Linked DNA regions of Homo sapiens: regions 2, 3, 4, 5 and 6 are each linked to region 1. Evidence: promoter capture Hi-C in 16 types of primary human blood cells and fetal thymus (Javierre and others, 2016). All regions are on one chromosome and are shown on one strand. Each heading gives the region's core, a stretch centred on a gene start or on the middle of the fragment in contact. The rest is flanking DNA. Distances are from core to core; before and after follow the strand shown. Region 1 holds the start of TIMP4 (TIMP metallopeptidase inhibitor 4). Region 2 overlaps MKRN2OS (MKRN2 opposite strand). Region 3 overlaps TSEN2 (tRNA splicing endonuclease subunit 2). Region 4 overlaps TSEN2 (tRNA splicing endonuclease subunit 2). Region 5 has its middle 13 kb from the start of TSEN2. Region 6 overlaps PPARG (peroxisome proliferator activated receptor gamma).

Evidence for each region. The method cuts DNA at HindIII sites, captures the fragments that hold promoters and counts their contacts. A CHiCAGO score of 5 or more calls a contact.
Region 2: a contact is called between a fragment that was not itself captured here and the fragment with the promoter of TIMP4 in region 1, in 1 of 17 cell types (endothelial precursors). The highest score is 5.5, in endothelial precursors.
Region 3: a fragment that was not itself captured here is called in contact with the fragment with the promoter of TIMP4 in region 1 in 1 of 17 cell types (endothelial precursors); the score reaches 6.2 in endothelial precursors.
Region 4: a contact is called between a fragment that was not itself captured here and the fragment with the promoter of TIMP4 in region 1, in 5 of 17 cell types (M1 macrophages, endothelial precursors, monocytes and 2 more). The highest score is 7.9, in M1 macrophages.
Region 5: a contact is called between a fragment that was not itself captured here and the fragment with the promoter of TIMP4 in region 1, in 15 of 17 cell types (M0 macrophages, M1 macrophages, megakaryocytes and 12 more). The highest score is 11.6, in M0 macrophages.
Region 6: a contact is called between a fragment that was not itself captured here and the fragment with the promoter of TIMP4 in region 1, in 1 of 17 cell types (monocytes). The highest score is 5.2, in monocytes.

Annotation. Positions count from the first base shown.
Region 1 is chr3:12,157,587-12,160,348 of GRCh38, forward strand. It overlaps TIMP4 (TIMP metallopeptidase inhibitor 4), which reads right to left and starts at 1,326. Exons shown (of 5, transcript NM_003256.4): 1 at 1,116-1,326. The coding sequence starts at 1,254. The region is part of intron 5 of SYN2 (synapsin II); the gene reads left to right. The HindIII fragment of the contact is 8,121 bases long and covers 1-2,762 here.
Region 2 is chr3:12,539,469-12,542,230 of GRCh38, forward strand. It overlaps MKRN2OS (MKRN2 opposite strand), which reads right to left. Exons shown (of 4, transcript NM_001195279.2): 3 at 2,392-2,554; 4 at 308-965. The coding sequence ends at 725. It also overlaps a transcript of TSEN2 not described here. Among named protein-coding and RNA genes, the nearest start is that of MKRN2OS, 4.6 kb to the right of the region's middle. The HindIII fragment of the contact is 624 bases long and covers 1,103-1,726 here.
Region 3 is chr3:12,508,076-12,510,837 of GRCh38, forward strand. The region is part of intron 6 of TSEN2 (tRNA splicing endonuclease subunit 2); the gene reads left to right. Among named protein-coding and RNA genes, the nearest start is that of TSEN2, 25 kb to the left of the region's middle. The HindIII fragment of the contact is 1,822 bases long and covers 536-2,357 here.
Region 4 is chr3:12,487,984-12,490,745 of GRCh38, forward strand. It overlaps TSEN2 (tRNA splicing endonuclease subunit 2), which reads left to right. Exons shown (of 12, transcript NM_025265.4): 2 at 1,801-2,006. The coding sequence starts at 1,818. Among named protein-coding and RNA genes, the nearest start is that of TSEN2, 4.9 kb to the left of the region's middle. The HindIII fragment of the contact is 5,707 bases long and covers 1-2,762 here.
Region 5 is chr3:12,469,703-12,472,464 of GRCh38, forward strand. No RefSeq gene overlaps it. Among named protein-coding and RNA genes, the nearest start is that of TSEN2, 13 kb to the right of the region's middle. The HindIII fragment of the contact is 5,789 bases long and covers 1-2,762 here.
Region 6 is chr3:12,416,167-12,418,928 of GRCh38, forward strand. PPARG (peroxisome proliferator activated receptor gamma) reads left to right here. Exons shown (of 8, transcript NM_138711.6): 7 at 538-988. Among named protein-coding and RNA genes, the nearest start is that of TSEN2, 67 kb to the right of the region's middle. The HindIII fragment of the contact is 9,374 bases long and covers 1-2,762 here.

The DNA.
Region 1 (2,762 bases), core at 76-2,575:
GGTTTTGGTGTGGCTGGGTTGTGAGCAACGTGATGTGTGAGAAGGGGGACCTGGAAACACCTCCCCTGCAGTCACTGGAAGTTCCAAACCCCTCAGGCTTATTAGGTCCTATAACCGCTAAGCTGTTTCTGCCTTTTGAACCAGTTAGTCTGGAGAGCTCTAGTTCTCCATAGCCGTTTGTGCAGTGGGGCACAGGGTAGGAGTCAGAGTAGAGAAGGGAGGAGGAGCCCCTTCAGGGCAGTCGGTGTGAAGTTTATCTATTGCTGTGGTCAAGGCCTCTCATCCCGCCTACAGTTGATATTAGTAAATGTTTATTGAATTCATAAATGTTCTGACCCTGCACTGAGGTATTGCATCTCTTGCCATTTGAGCATTAATAACCAAAAACTGTTGATGATGTTCTTCCTCTGTGCCTGGCCTTGCACTAGGCACTAGGCCCATAGATGTGATTAAGACAGGGTCCCCATCCTGCCGAGCTCTTGATCTAGTGGAGTGCACACGTGTAAAGAACAACAGCACAGCATAGTAGGAGCGCTAAGACGGTTAGAGATGCTGAGGCGGCACCAAGGAGCCCGGGAGCCTGCAGAGAAGGGGAGAGACCTAAGTTAGCCCTTGAAGGATGAGTAGGAGTCTGCCAGGAATTTAAGGGTGTGAGGGAGGGCATTCCAGGCAGAGGGAAGAGAAAGGACAGAACGTGTGTGTTGCCATAGGGGCTTGGTGGCAACCTCAGTTATAGGCCTGGACAGACACGGGTAGTTACAATGCAAGCCCTCTCCCCTCCCCTTTCTGTCCCCAGTCTAGTAGTTCAGAATAATCATCAGATAGCTCCGGTGACACCTTGTGTAATGACACTCCATAATTGCAGTATGGCCGGAGTGAGGGAGGTCGCTATGGAAGTCCCTGATGAAATCTTCATTTCCTTATGAATCAGTCAGGTTCTGGGCTTGCAAGGTTGCTATGGCGCCTGGTCCTTCTCCACCCATCAGCCTCAGCAAGAGACAACCGGTAAGAATTTGAGCTCCTCCCTTTTCCTCTGGACTCCTGGTGTACTGCTGGCCAGATACTAATCCCCCACAACCACCCCCTGCTGTGGACCTCGCGGACCTCGGACTCACCAAGTGCCGAGTGGCAGATGTGCTGCTGAGGGTGCGCCGGGGCGCAGCTGCATGCCTCACCCAGCCCCGGGGGCCGCAGCAACGCCAGCAGCCGCAGCAACAGCACCCAGCTTGGCGCGGGCCGAGGGCTCCCAGGCATGACACTGCAGATCCGCGACTGAGCCTGTGAGGTCTGGGGGACTGGACGGCCCCAGCAGGGCTCCTTCCCAAGGCCGTTGTGCCCCTCGCCCCAGGCTTTATGAGGTGGCCCTAAGGGCCAATCCCGCCCCGACGGGCTCCGCCTTCCTTTGGCTCTAGGCCACCCGCGGAGGCAGGACCCGAGGCTCTTCCGACCTGCATACTCAGTAAGATGCAGAGGGAAGCCTGGAAGGAGGCCCTGACCTCTGTTTCCCTGCCTAAGTCATGAAGCGATCTGGAAGCAGAGGGGAAGCACTGGGAGAGGGGATGGTGTCAAGGGCAGAAAGACGGAAAGAGCCACAAAGACAAATGCATGAGGACAGAAAAACTGAGGGCTGTGATTCAGGCAGAAAGAACAAGAGTGAGGAGAGGCACAGACAGAAAGAGTGAGACAGGCAGAGTCCCAGAGAGGCAGACAGAATTACAACAGGCAAAAGAGACAGTGACAGAGAAGGACGGACCCCTTGCTGAGCTGCACGCTGGGAATGAGACGAGCTACTCAGGGCTTCTTTCAGCTGCAGGAAGTGCTTTCAATGCCCTATTTATGAGGCTCCAAAGCAACAGCAAACAGTAATAGAACAGGACAGAGAAAGTTGGGGTGTGTGTGTCTTGGCTCTGTTGCCTGGGGGGTGGGGAGAGATGTCAAAGAAGCAGCCAGTGCTTTAGAAACCCTTTCTCACTCCCAGAGCCTCAGACTCTCCAGATAGCTGGAGACAGCGCTCTTGGTGTACAAAACACAAAGTGTCCCATCACTTAGGGCAAACCTTGGACCTCAAAGCCCTCTCGAGGCCCTAGACTACATTGATTTTTATTGCATGTCCCTTCTCACTGGAGACTCTGTCATGTTCTAGAAGGTGGGACAGCTTAGAAAACAAAGAAGCAGGCTGGGCGTGGTGGCTCACGCCTGTAATCTCAGCACTTTGGGAAGCCAAGGCGGGTTGATCACCTGAGGTCAGGAGTTCGAGATCACCCTAGCCATCATGATGAAACTCCGTCCCTACTAAAAATACAAAAGTTAGCCGGGCGTGGTGGCCTACACCTGTAGTCCCAGGTACTCAGGAGGCTGAGGCAAGAGAATGGCTTGAACCCAGGAGGCGGAGGTTGAAGTGAGCTGAGACTGTGCCACTGCACTCCAGTCTGGGCGACAGAGTGAGACTCCGTCTCAAAAAAAAAAAAAAAAAAAAAAAAGTAAAAGAAAAAACAAAGAAGCAGGGGACTTGGGGGTGACTGTGACCAGAGCCTTGTCTGCTGTTTGGGCACAGTGTTGCAAGCCTCCAAATCCCAAATCTCCATGGGATTATTGCTGTGGGATGTTTCCACATGGTGCTGGACTGGATAGTGGGAGGCTGGGTTCCAATTCTGACTGTCACTGTAGCTTTGTGACTTTTGCCTCTCTGGGCCTCAGTTTTTTCTTCATAAAGTAGAGTTGAACTACGTGATTTCTAAAGCCCTTTGAAGTTCTTCTTCCCA
Region 2 (2,762 bases), core at 165-2,664, 380 kb after region 1:
GAAGGTACTCATTACTTCATAACTTGTGTCTCACCCACCTTGCTGTCTTCACATCCCCACTTTCTGTATGCACATTGGAAGGTGAATTTGTTCAGCTCACATTAATTTATAGGAATAATTTTCATTGCTCTGTGAATAAAATGTGCTACCACTTTATGCTGTAAATGGATTCTTAGTTTAAAAACCTCATTGATATGAAAATAATTTTGTTGGAATGCATATAATTTTTAAAACCTAGGGCAATTTTTATTTTATGAAGTCTTATGATGTAGTAAGCTGACATATGCTTGAAGGAAAGCCATACACGTTTTTATTTTTTATTTTTTATTTTTTTGAGATGGAGTTTCACTCTTGTTGCCCAGGCTGGAGTGCAATGGCACGATCTCAACTCATCCCAACCTCCGCCTCCCGGGTTCAAGCGATTCTCCTGCTTCAGCCTCCCTAGTAGTTGGGATTACAGGCATGCGCCACCATGCCCAGCTAATTTTATATTTTTAGTAAGGACGGGGTTTCTCCATGTTGGTCAGGCTGGTCTCAAACTCCCAACCTCAGGTGACCTACCTGTCTTAGCTTCCCAAAGTGCTGGGATTACAGGTGTGAGCCACCATGCCCGGCCCATACACGCTTTTATTAACCACAGTTAAATGCATTTAGAAATCCATAGTACTGATTAAAGGTAGCAACCACCCTACCCTCCAGCGTCCAGGCTGCGCTTACATAGCTCTCAGCACAAACCGCCGCCCTCAGGGGGTTGTGCCTGCTGCTGGGGACAGTCAGTGACGTAGAAGCCATGCTCCCGTATCGCCCGGTAGAGTGTGATGAACTTGGATGCCAGCCTTGTCCGCGGGACCACGTACTTCTCCGTAAATTCACCCTTGTCCAGTTGCTGTCTACCTTCTGCCATCAGAACGCAGTTAATGAACGTGAGTGCGTAAGAGTAGCAGTTATGGTGGTTGTCTTCATACCTTATGGAGGAGAATAAGGGTGTTGAGAAGAAAAGGCTGCTCAGAACAGGCTGTCAAGCTACTGAAGGCCTTTCCTAACTGAAATCGGGTGCCTCAGCAAGCAAGGCCCCTGCATGTGCTGGCTTATGTGGTTAAGAAGCTTCAAGATGTGCACTTCAGGCCGGGTGCGGTGGCTCACACCTGTAATCCCAGCACTTTGGGAAGCGAGGGTGGGAGGATCACTTGAGGTCAAGAGTTCGAAACTGGCCTGGCCAACATGGTGAAACCCCGTCCCTACAAAAAATACAAGTTAGCTGGGCATGGTGGTGCACGCCTGTTGTCCCAGCTACTTGGGAGGCTGAGGCAGGAGAATTGTTTGAACCGGCGGGAGGCAGAGGTTGCAGTAAGCCAAGATCGCACCACTGTACTCCAGCCTGGGTGACAGAGTGAGTAAGACTCCATCTCAAAAAAAAAAAAAAAAAAAAATGCAATTCTGGGGGATGCTTGGTCTCTTGGGCCGTTTCTGCTTGCTGCAGATTGGCATAGACTCACCCAGATGTTCAGAGTGGTTACTCAGTTGCAAGTTAACTACCAATTTGGGGAACTTATTGAACTTCTAGAGTTTAGAGATGGAATTCCATATGAGTTTTATGATATTCCATAGTATCTAAACTTATTTCGGGGGAAACCTCCAAATAATTTAAATCCACAAACATGCTATACGTCTTACAAAATGTTGAGAGTGAGAAATTAACTGGAAATTGCTAAAATTACAAAAAAGAAGCTTTTACATTTTGAACATTGGTTTTTGTGTTTTTTTGTTTTTGGTGAGACGAAGTCTTACTCTCTTGCCCAGGCTGGAGTGCAATCGTGTGATTTCAGCTCACTGCAACCTCCGCCTCTTGGTTCAAGTGATTCTCCTGCCCAAGCCTCCCAAGTAGGGACTACAGACGTCCACCACCACGCCTGGCTATTTTTGTATTTTTAATAGAGACGGGGTTTTACCATGTTGTCCAGGCTGGTCTCGAACTTCTGACCTCAGGTGATCTACCTGCCTCAGTCTCCCAAAGTGCTGGGATTACAGGCGAGAGCCATTGTGCCCAGCCTGAATATTGTTTTTTTTAATTTTTAAGGAAATATAATATCGTGACTTGCTATTTATGTGTAAAAATACCTTGTCACATAACTAAAATAACTGAATACAGGTTCTAGACCTTTCAGCTCTTACAACGCTGTGATTTTGTTGTATGTGTATGCTGACCCACCTCTGCAGAAAACCTAGGGTAGTTCAACCTCTGTTTAAATTCTGTTAGAGATGCTAATATGTCTGTATCGGCTCAACATGAAGCTAAGTGCTGCTGAGTCCTCTGTGAGCTGAGGCTACACGGGGATCCCACTTGCATAGCATGTGAGTGTCAGCGAGGGGGCAGCATTTGCAGTCGTGTACCTGTGAGGCAGCCAGGCCCCCGAGGTGGAGAAGTCTTCCAGGTACTTGTCCCATTGCTCCATCATTCCATACATGTTGGGCTGCAGTAATGGGATGCTTATGCTCTCTTCCCACCCTTCTCCGTCTCGCTGGACACCATGTGCACTGTAATTATACACAACCCCTGCAAATCAAAACCAAAGTCATGTGGAGCCCCAAGGAAACACACACCTCTGTGAAAAAGAGACATCAGAAAATGACAGTAGCCATGTGGTAACTTTACGTAACATAAATCCAGGGTGGAGGTTCTAGAATCTTCCATCCACCTAATGAGATTTAGATTTGCCTACAGTCATGGAGGGATTTTTGTAGCCTTCCCTGTTATCAGCAAT
Region 3 (2,762 bases), core at 197-2,696, 350 kb after region 1:
GTGACCAGAGCTAGCATCAGTATGGAGGGTGGGCTGGAGGCCTGGCCTGGGAGGTGGCAGCTGTAGGCGAAGGGTATTCCGTGTCAGATGCTGGGAGTTCAGCTGCACTGTTCCAGTTGACCAGCTGCTGTCTTTTATTGACAAATTTTTTAAAGGCTGCTGCTGCCTGCTGCCTCCTCTTGAACACCCCCTGATGAAAGGCAAGAGTAATAGGAGACAGGAGATGAGGTTACTCTGCCTTCTTAGAAGCTGCCTGGCACCTGAGAACATTTCAGAGATGTGTTCCAGAAGTTTTCAGGGAGCACACCGTTAAACCTAGCTCTACTTGTCTTTCTGTTTTGGCAGATTTCTTTTGAATGAATCACCTATGTTTGGTGCACTGCATGTACCCGCGGAGTGTTTCTGTGAATGTTAGTCAGGAACACAGGCAGAATGGGGTCTCACCCCTGCTGTGGTGATTCACAACAGCTCTCTTAAGGGACTCAGAGTGGTGATACACAGCTAACTTAGAAGTCTGCTCAGCGCTGACATGGGAAGCTTTTAGTCTGCAACCTTCCACAGATGTGGACATGCGGCCTTGTAGGGGTGTTTTCATGCCTTTGCCTTGACTCATTCAGAACAGAGATTTGGAAATTTTCATAGAGTAATTGAAGAGCTATAAACTGTATTTACCTCAGTTATTTCTGAGTAGTTATTTCTGAAGAGTTCTGTCTCCATCCGTCTTCTGCATCCTTCAGTGGACACGCACACACGCAAACACTCAAATGCTTTGCTCTTCAAATTTTTTATTCTTATATTTTTTAGAGACAGGGTTTCTCTCTGTTGCCCAGGCTGGAGTGCAGTGGCACCATCATAGCTCACTGAAGCCTCATACTCCTGAGCTCAAGGTATCCCACCACCTTAGCCTCCTGAGTACCTAGAATTACAGGTGCATGCTACACCATGTCTGGCTAATTTTTTAATCAAATGCTTTTTAATTAGCAAGATCCAGTGAGAAATAGATTGATTTGGGGGAGCAAATTTTTTTTTAAATGAAAGTTGATTTCACTGTAAAGTAAAAGCAGTTGCATAATGCTGTCATGAAGTTAGGGCTGTCAACTTTGGGGGTTTTTTTTGGTTTTTTTTGTTGTTGTTTTTTTTTTTGAGACAGGGTCTCGCTCTGTCACCTAGGCTGCAGTGCAGTGGCGTGATCTCAGCACACTGCAACGTCTGCCTCCCGGGTTCAAGTGATCCTCCCACCTCAGCCTCCTGGTAGCTGGAACTACAGGCATGCACCATCACACCCAGCTAATTTTTGTATTTTTAGTAGAGATGGAGTTTCGCCATGTTGGTCAGGCTACTCTCTAACTCCTGGCCTCAAGTGATCTGCCCGTCTTGGCCTCCCAAAGTGCTGAGATTATAGTCATGAGCCACCACACGCTGCCAGGCAGTCAACTTTTGAAGGTTAAGGAGCTTTAACGTTTATATTTCCCAAGTTCAAAGTAGATGTGTTTAATTTTACTGTGTGTGCTGTTGGGAAACTGATGGGAGGTGATTTAATAGGGGTGGTGCAGACCAGCTCACTCATTCCCAGCAAGATTCCCACCATGGCAGCACCCCAGTAAGGCCCTGCATTCCAGGTCTAATCCTTTGCTTGAGGGACTAAGAAGTTCGGATTTGTTAGAGCACAGAAAATGACTTGAGCTCTAGGAGCAGCATTCATGCTGAGTGTGCTCACAAGAGCCTGGGGAATAAACTAGAATGTGAGTTTATTAACATCAGCAAAGGCCCCACCACCTGCCTTTCCATATTGGCATGTTCTCTTCATGTAGAAAATTCAGATGCCGAAGGGTAATATAATTGGAAGGCTGCTTGGTGAGCACAGAGTTAGCCTGTGAGGAGTGAGCTGGATAATACAAGTGCTTAAGGATGTCAGGCTCATGTGTCCTTCTCCCCAAGGAGGTATAAACTGTTTTTTACTTGATACTGAAGATTCTAAGATTGTTGTATGACTTTCAATTAATTATTTTACTTAATGTGGTAGCATGCATTCTTTTTCTTGAAAAGCCACCATTGAATTGAGGTATATCAAAGAGCTGCTAACATCTAGACTGGAGGCAGTGTGGTGCATGCATTGGTCTGCCACCGAACCCTTGGGTCGGAGTCCCATCCTGTGCGCAGTGCGAAGACCTTGCCACCGTCACCAGACTCCCCATTTGCTGAGTTTCCTCACTCACTCTGTGTCACATTCTTTAACTGTGTTGATATCATTCAGCTGTGGCTCTGAGTTTGTTGATACATGTCGATTTCTTAGTCTAACTCCAGTTTTAGAGGCTGCCTTACTGGTACTTCTGTGTATTGTTCGTATATACTTATAAAGCTTTTAAAGTGCGTGAGAAAATTTCTCTTATTTAGAAAATAAAGACAATAGTCCCCACACAGGAGGACCAGGTGGGAATGCTTGGAAACAAAGGGACACACCAGGGTCGGGCGACAGCTCTCCTCGTGCCTGACAGCAGCAGTCTCAGTCAGATCTCGTTTACGCATCGTCTTGTGCCCGGCTCTTCCATTTTGTACCTCACCCGTTTTTCCCACATTTCTTTTCCCGTGCTTAGTGTCCATAATATGGATTCCAAGTATCAGAATCTGGTGATTAGAATGTCTAAGATTCTTCCCTAGAATTTTGTGGTTATTTTTTTACTGCTACGTTGTTTGACTAGTCTCCCTCCCCTGCAATAGGTCAGTGACTTTCCTTCTATCTAAACTTCTGAAAATTTTCCAGA
Region 4 (2,762 bases), core at 88-2,587, 330 kb after region 1:
TTCATGGTTATCTTTGTAATTGATGTATCATTTCCTCTAACTCCTCTTTAGTCTGTGTTTTTCTGTGTCCTCATATAATTCCTCAGCTTCTTCCTTGAGAAGTTGGATACTGATATCATCACACGTTGGATAAGCCTTTTCTTAATGGTCATGACACTCTTAAAGCCACTCACCTTCCCCTCCCTCAGTTTTGGCCACCTTCTTGACTGTTTCAGGCTTGATGGCATCCCTTGCCAATGGGATGCAAGTACTGAGTGCAGGAGCCACCTAAGTAATTAGTCTTATTTTTTCCCTTGTGAGGATTCGGAGTCATGTAGGTTAAACGTGTGTATGATTTGGCCGCACTGTATCTTCAAGCACCAGGTAAGCTCTCAGTTGAAATCAAGTCTAGACCTAGTACTGGGGGAGCAGCAGATTCAAGTTTCCCATCTCATTCCAGGACAGCTGCTCCTCGAGTGGAATGTCTTGCACCATTTACATTGTTTTCCCATGTATATGGTTACGTTTTCCTAGGTTAAGTGCATCTACTGTATCTCTGTGTCTGCATCACACAATATGTTCACATTTACTTCCCTCCTTTAGACATTAGTGGATAACAGCCAGTTCCGTTAGCTCCAACCTGCTTTCTGTGCTTCCAGCTATGTTATATACTTGTTTTGTCTCCTTGGATCCAATGTATGGCCCCAGAGGGACACGTACTGGCTTTGGCTTTCTGTTCTCCCTCATGGTGCTGGGTGCACAGTGGGTAATTCCGTTACTGCTCAATAACCCTTCACCGTCTGATTTTGAGAAAGAGTCATCAGACAAAAGTAGATAGACCCTGCCTGTGCTTTCAGCAGAATCTAGAGAGAGGGCATGGGCTTGGGAGTTCAACAGACCTGGGTCACCCGATGCCACCACACTCGGGGTCGTCTACAAATCTCTCTAACCTGAATCTGTTTCCTATTTGTAAAATGGTGTTGCTACTGCTCACCCTGTAATACTAATTATAGCTGATACATGAATGGTACACGCTATGTGCCAGGTACTGTTCTAAGCACTTTATGGATCTTAACTGTAAGATAGAGTCGTTCTTATCTTGATTTTGCAGGTGAGGAAACTAAATCACAGAGAGAGTCAGTGACTTTTGCCCAAAATCACACTGCTAGGAAGTGGTAAAGTTGATTCTGATGCTGATAGTCTGGCTTTAGAGTCCCTGCTTGAAGCCAGTAGCATTTGGTAGTATATAATCGACCCTTAAATAACTGCTGCTGTCATTATTATTTATTAATGTACTTTAAAAATTGGGAGCTGATTGACCCAATGTTTAGTGTGTATTGTAAGATCCTCTTGGAAAATGAAGTGCCTGCAAGATTTAATTTGTTGAGGACAGGGTCTCAGTTTTGTCTTTGTCTCCCCAGCACCTATGATTATTAGGAATTCCTGGTAGTAAATGTCTGTTGGGTGAGTGAAATGGAAGCACTCCTGGTAGACAGAAATCCTGTTGTGCTTGCTCTCAGGAGACCTAACATTGCAGCTTTGGGCATGTCACTAGGTCTCAGCGTTGTCAGCTGGAGTAGAAAGATTACCACTCATTTCCTGGGGTTTATTGTGGGGATTAATTGCAGTATTCTAGGTCAATATGATTTACATTGCTCACACAAACTGTTCTTACTGCTTTTAGTTTATTGCTTTATAAATACTCTATTTCTTCCCACAGACCACTAAGTTTTCTGAGCCTAGGTACAGATGTACTCACATTTTGGATCAAGGTAGTTATTGATTGTCTGTTTCTTTCTGTTTGTTGTCTACTCTTTAAAGAATACCTCCTCTGAAAAATGGCAGAAGCAGTTTTCCATGCCCCAAAGAGGAAAAGAAGAGTGTATGAGACTTACGAGTCTCCATTGCCAATCCCTTTTGGTCAGGACCATGGTCCTCTGAAAGAATTCAAGATATTCCGTGCTGAAATGATTAACAACAATGTGATTGTGAGGAATGCGGAGGACATTGAGCAGCTCTATGGGAAAGTAAGTGCAGGCAGCCTTGGTAAGATTACTTTCAGACAACCCTGAGCAAGCAGTCCTTTCCTTCTCCCCATCCCAGCCATACCCCCACACCAACCATGAACAATGTGTATTCTTTCCTTGCGGTTTGGTCCAGTTGTAGGAAAAGTACAATTTGAATTAGTGCCCAAAAGCCATATGTTAGGGTAATAGAATGACAGATGGAGCACCCCTGCCCACAAACCTTTATTTCAGTGATGAAGTAGGTTCAATGGATTGACTATTTTTTTTGTCTTTAGTTGTAAAAGCAATGCATGTTTGTTAAAGGAACAAAAAAAGTAATTTACAGAAATGTAATGGGTAAAAAAGTGAAAATTCCCCACTCACTCCCATCCCGTTCCCAGAGGTAGCCACAGCGTGGCATAGTGTCCCTACTCAGGCACGGATCAGATGGGGCTTTGGCATGGAGCTCCTTATCTGCTGCCTCCTGGTTGGGGACCTCTTCTCAGATGAGGACAAGTTCTAGTTTTTACTGTTTTCCAGCATTGATCAAGTTGAATGAAGACTGGTAGTTCTTTAAAAAAAATTTTCCATAATCTGTTCATTGCTGTGGGCATTTTTAAAAAACAGCTTTATTGAGTTATAATTTACAACTATAAAGTCCTCCCATTGTAAGTATACAATTCAGTGATTGTCATAAATTTATAGAGTTGCACAACTCTCACCACAGTCCAGTTTTAGAACATTCCCATCACCACAGAGTTCCCTTGTGCCCATCAC
Region 5 (2,762 bases), core at 74-2,573, 310 kb after region 1:
AAAATACAAAAAAATTAGCTGGGCATGGTGGTGGGTGCCTGTAATCCCAGCTACTTGGGAGGCTGAGGCAGGAGAATGGCGTGAACCTGGGAGGCGGAGGTTGCAGTGAGCCGAGATGGCGCCACTGCACTCCAGCCTGGACGACAGTGTGAGACTCCATCTCAAAAAAAAAAAAAGAAAAGAAAAGAAAAAAGAAAAAAAAGAAATAGATACAGGTCATTTTATTATAGAAGCTCATGTTAAACTTCACGTAATTAGCCCAGAAAAGAAGCTCACGTCACGCTGAGTGGTGATGGCAAGAGTAGCTGGCATTATTGAGCACCCGCTCCCAGCCAGGTACTACGCACATCATCCTCAAACCTCTCAGTGTCCTTGCAGGGGTAGCCCTGCTTTCCCCATTTTACAGATGAGCGACCCGTGGCTTAGGAAGATCATGTCACACAAATGCCCGCAAGTGCAAGCTCTCGATTTTTCTAATCCTTGAGAGTGGATGCTTTTTCTCTTCATCTATTTTGTCTTGGCTGATGGCTGGTGATACAGCTTTCTACAATTGGACCAACTTTCCCTGCCCAGCTCTTTCACAAACATTCCAGGTGGATTTATCATCCTGTGGGCTATATGGGACATTCTTATTCATTAATCTGCAGCAGAGCCCAAAGACAAAAGCAAACAGGAGACTCCATTCATTTAAAAAAAAAAGTGAATTAAATAGTACTCATCAAAAGAACTTGGTCAGGCCAGGCTTGGTGGCTCACGCCTGTAATCCCCACACTTTGGGAGGCTGAGGTGAGCAGATCACCTCAGGTCAGGAGTTCAAGACCAGCCTGGCCAACATGGCAAAACCCCGTCTCTACTAAAAATACAAAATTCAGCCAGGCATGATGGCGTGCACCTGTAATCCCAGCTACTAGGAAGGCTGAGGCAGGAGAAGCGCATGAACGTGGGAGGTAGAGGTTGCCGTGAGCCAAGATCATGCCACTGCACTTCAGCCTGGGTGACAGAGCGAGACTCCATCTCAAGAAAAAAAAAAGAACTTGATAGAGCTTTAAAAAATGCATTTACAAATTCATTTCTCCTCTTTACTTCATTAGCTCAAATAACATATTCTTTTCTGATAGCAAGGCCCAGAAAGCTACCACCTGCTGCTGTTTCTGCCTCTTCTGGCCATTCAACAAGTGTTCACTGATGACTCTCGGGAGAAAGTCAAGGCACAGAGATGAATAAGGCCCAGGCCCCGCCCTGCAGACCCCCAGGCCACTGGATGACATCCCTCCTGAAAGAGCAATGAATGCCAGGCCTTGTCTGATAAGAGCTATGGAAAGGCTGTCATGAAAGTGCAGAGAAGACAGAGGGCTTTCCTGCCTAAGGGAATCAGGTGAGGCTGAAGGATGGGTAAGAATTGGACAGGAAGACACAGTGAGGAAGGGCGTCTTGGAGGGCCCAGTTTCTTCCTCTCCATCGTTGTGGCTGATAGACATTGCATATGCCAGGACTGTGCCACCCACTGTATCCACATCGCTCCTGCTGAGGCTGCTACCACCCCCACCCCCACCTTTCAGATGAGCAACTGAAGTTCCAAGAGGCTAAGCCGCTGCCCAAGGTCCTAGGTGCGTTCCAGAAGCAGGCTTTGAATCCAGCTCTCTTGGCGCCCCTGCTGTTAGGTTGATTTACTGTTTTCAAAGAACCTTCAAACACGTTATCCCATTTCATCTTCCTGTGCCTGGGGTTTCTCTATGTCTCACCAGCCTGTTGGCACAGATGAGTCACCCTGCCCGTAATAACGTGAATTTTACTCTCCCAGCCTCCCCCTCTGCTCGCTCACCCCGGTCCTCCAGCCACCTGCACAGCCTCGCCCACTTCTGGCGGGAGTCCCCGGGGTGTCTGTGATCTCCTTTTCCTCCTCAACCCCACTCATTCAAGTTCACTGCCCAAGGAGGCAGCTGGAGGTCACTCCTCTTCCCTCCATTCCCGGTGTGTGTTGCTTCGAAAATTCTTTCCCAGCACCAGGGCTAGAGTAAGGTGGCTGGCGAGGAGAGGGGAGACCATGGTTCTACTACCCACTGAGTGTGGGACCTCAGTGGCCGCCGTCATCATCCTTCTGGGAGCCTCAGGTTTCTTATCTGTGAAAGGAAAGGGGTTCAGTTTCATACATGTCCCTCTGAGCAGCGGTCAAATGTGATACAGTAAACCAAGGGCCCTAAGGAAATTGGAGAATCAGCTCCCAGCACTCCATGGGACACACACATCAGCAGTCACACCTCCAGGCCCCATGTGTTGGGGGTAAGTGCCATAAGGGAATGAAACTGGTGGGAAGGGCTGTTCCTGGCTCGGGGGGCCCATATGGAGGCCGTTCCTCCAGGCCTTAACACAAGCCAGATCCTGCTCTCAGAATTCACCAGCATTACCCACAAGTCCTCCCGGGGGCCAGCTGTGGCAGGAACCAGTTGAATTCCCATGTTAGAGACAAATAAACTGAGGAGGCTCAGAGAGGCAAAGTCACTTGTCCAAGGTCACACAGCTAGTCAGTGGTAGAATCCGGTAGAACTGGGTCTGAGGGCCCCCCCGTCAACCCAGCCTCTTAACTGCTGTCTTCACAGAAAAGGGGCCAGTACATCCTGGCACTGAAAAATCAGCGCAGCCGTTCAGCACTACCCCTGCCTATAGGAATGATTCTCTGGATAGAATCATTCGTCATTTCCTCATCTGCACAGTCAGCTAGAACAAGAATTCCTGGAGCTCAAGTAGGCTCCAATGGGGATCTG
Region 6 (2,762 bases), core at 121-2,620, 260 kb after region 1:
CCAGGAGTTCAAGACCAGCCTGGCCAACATGGTGAAACCCCATCTCTACTAAAAATACAAAAATCAGCTGGGTGTGGCAGTGCATGCCAGTAATCCCAGCTACCCAGGAGGCTGAGGCACAAGAATTGCTTGAACCTGGGAGGTGGAGGTTGCAGTGAGCCCTGATTGTGCCACTGTAATTCAGTCTGGGCGCAGAGTGAGACTCTGTCTCAAAAACAAACAAACAAATAATATAAAAATCAACAATGAAGACTCCCCAAACAAAAGAAATCAGGATTCTTAGCCAGTCATAGGTAAAGTGTTACAGTGTAAATTGAAGGGAAAGAAGACCAAAATTGGTGAAATATGTTTGGTCCCAGAAGATAATTAAGATGAATAAAAGAACTTGAGAGTATTTTCTCATTATTAAGCATCTTCAGCTTTAAAGATTTTAGTTAGCAAAGCAAGTTTACATAAACAGTTTTCTGAACCTGGGATGGCATTCACTGTGAGTTAGAAATCTCCAAGTCATCCACGTTTTCCCTGTTTTATTTGCAGCCATTCGTTATCTATGACATGAATTCCTTAATGATGGGAGAAGATAAAATCAAGTTCAAACACATCACCCCCCTGCAGGAGCAGAGCAAAGAGGTGGCCATCCGCATCTTTCAGGGCTGCCAGTTTCGCTCCGTGGAGGCTGTGCAGGAGATCACAGAGTATGCCAAAAGCATTCCTGGTTTTGTAAATCTTGACTTGAACGACCAAGTAACTCTCCTCAAATATGGAGTCCACGAGATCATTTACACAATGCTGGCCTCCTTGATGAATAAAGATGGGGTTCTCATATCCGAGGGCCAAGGCTTCATGACAAGGGAGTTTCTAAAGAGCCTGCGAAAGCCTTTTGGTGACTTTATGGAGCCCAAGTTTGAGTTTGCTGTGAAGTTCAATGCACTGGAATTAGATGACAGCGACTTGGCAATATTTATTGCTGTCATTATTCTCAGTGGAGGTAAGATTTGTCTTTTGATCTTCTATGAAAGAGGGTGGGATGATGGTGGGGTGGCCAAAAGAATTTTGGATTTCCTTAGTGTTAGTCTGCATTGTCACTTTAAGTGCCAGTGGCATGATGCCATGAATCATCACTACACGTGCAAAACACTGTACCAAGAAAGAGTGTCATAGGTTTGCGGTGTGAAGGTTATAAGTAACCCAGGATCTTCTCTTTCATCCCTCAACAATATATTTTTTCCAGTCAAATGCCCTCTTCTCCTTTTTCTTTTTCTTTTCTTTTCTTTGTCTCTTTCTTTTCCTTCCAGAAAGGAAGATTAGAGGCCAGTCTAATCTTTGGTTCCTGTAAGTAATGGCATGTATAACTTTGCTTAAGACAATGCTCACTTGATGTAGAGAAGGGACCACTAAGTATTTCTGGTCAAATCATGCTCCTGCCCCACCATCAGTAAGATACTACTTTGAATTGCTTTTGTGATATCAGGAATTAAGGAATACCTACTGACCTCCACCCACTCTCTTGTGTGGATTCCTCTGATGGCTTCCCTTAAAGTACCTTTGTGAGGTAGTTGGTTGTGATTAAGAATGCAATGTGAACCGAACACACAACATAGAAATAAATTTAGTTATTTAGCAATTTGTTGTATTTTTGGCCCTGCAAGTAGTACATGATCTGACTAACCAATTCCAAAAGCCAGATTTTCTTCTGAGTGTGACTTTTTTCTTTTTTTTTTCTTTTTTTTTTTTCCTTTTTTTTTTTTTTTTTTTTTTTGTGAGACAGGGCCTCACTCTGTCACCCAGACTGAAGTGCAGTTGCACAGTCATAGCTCACTGCAGCTTCTAACTGCAGTTAGTAAGCTATGATCATGCTACTTCATAAAAGTAATACGTGGCCATTTTACAGTTGGGCTCAAGTGATTCTCCCACCTCAGCCTCCCAAGTAGACAGGACAACAGCTGCACACCAACATGCCCTGCTAATTTTAAAAATTTTTTTGTAGAGATGAGGTCTCATTATGTTGCCCAGGCTGATCTCAGATTCCTGACCTCAAGCAATCTTCTCACCTTGGTCTCCCAAAGCGCTGGGATTATAGGCATAAGCCACCACGCACAATCTAAACATTACTTTCATTAGCCTCTCATGAGTAGAAGAAAGTTTTACTTTCATCTCTCTGTATAAAAATTGTTTTTAAGTGGCAAGTTTTCCTATTGAAGTGGACTTTAGGTGAGCTTTTTGTATGTACTCTACAGTGTATCCTCTGTGAAAAACCCGTCGGGGGATAGTGGTAAACTGTATATAACTGCACAATGTATTATAAAGAGCACGATCCCTTTGTCATCTTTTGTTGTCCAGTTGAAAGGAGAATGTTTCTGAAATCAGGTGCATAGTGCAGTAGTCATAAGAATAGCAAACATTTATTTAATACTTGCTGTGTGCCAGGCAGTGTTCTAAGCACTTCATGCATATTTATTCAATCCTCACAACAATTCAGGGAAGTAAGGACCATTTTACAAATGAGGAAACCAAAGCACTGAGAGGTTTTCTCATTTGCGCAAGGTTACGTGGCTAGCAAAAGATGGAGACAGGATTGTGAGCCAGGCATGCTGGCTCAGACTCTACACTCTCTACCATCACATCATGCGGAATACCGGCCTTTAAATGCCTAGGGTGCAAATAGATCACAGTATGGCATAGTTTACCTTTGGAGCTGTGAAGTCCAGGGTCAAGTCGTGATTCACTTTAAAATAACTACTTGATATTGTGGGTTTTTGTTG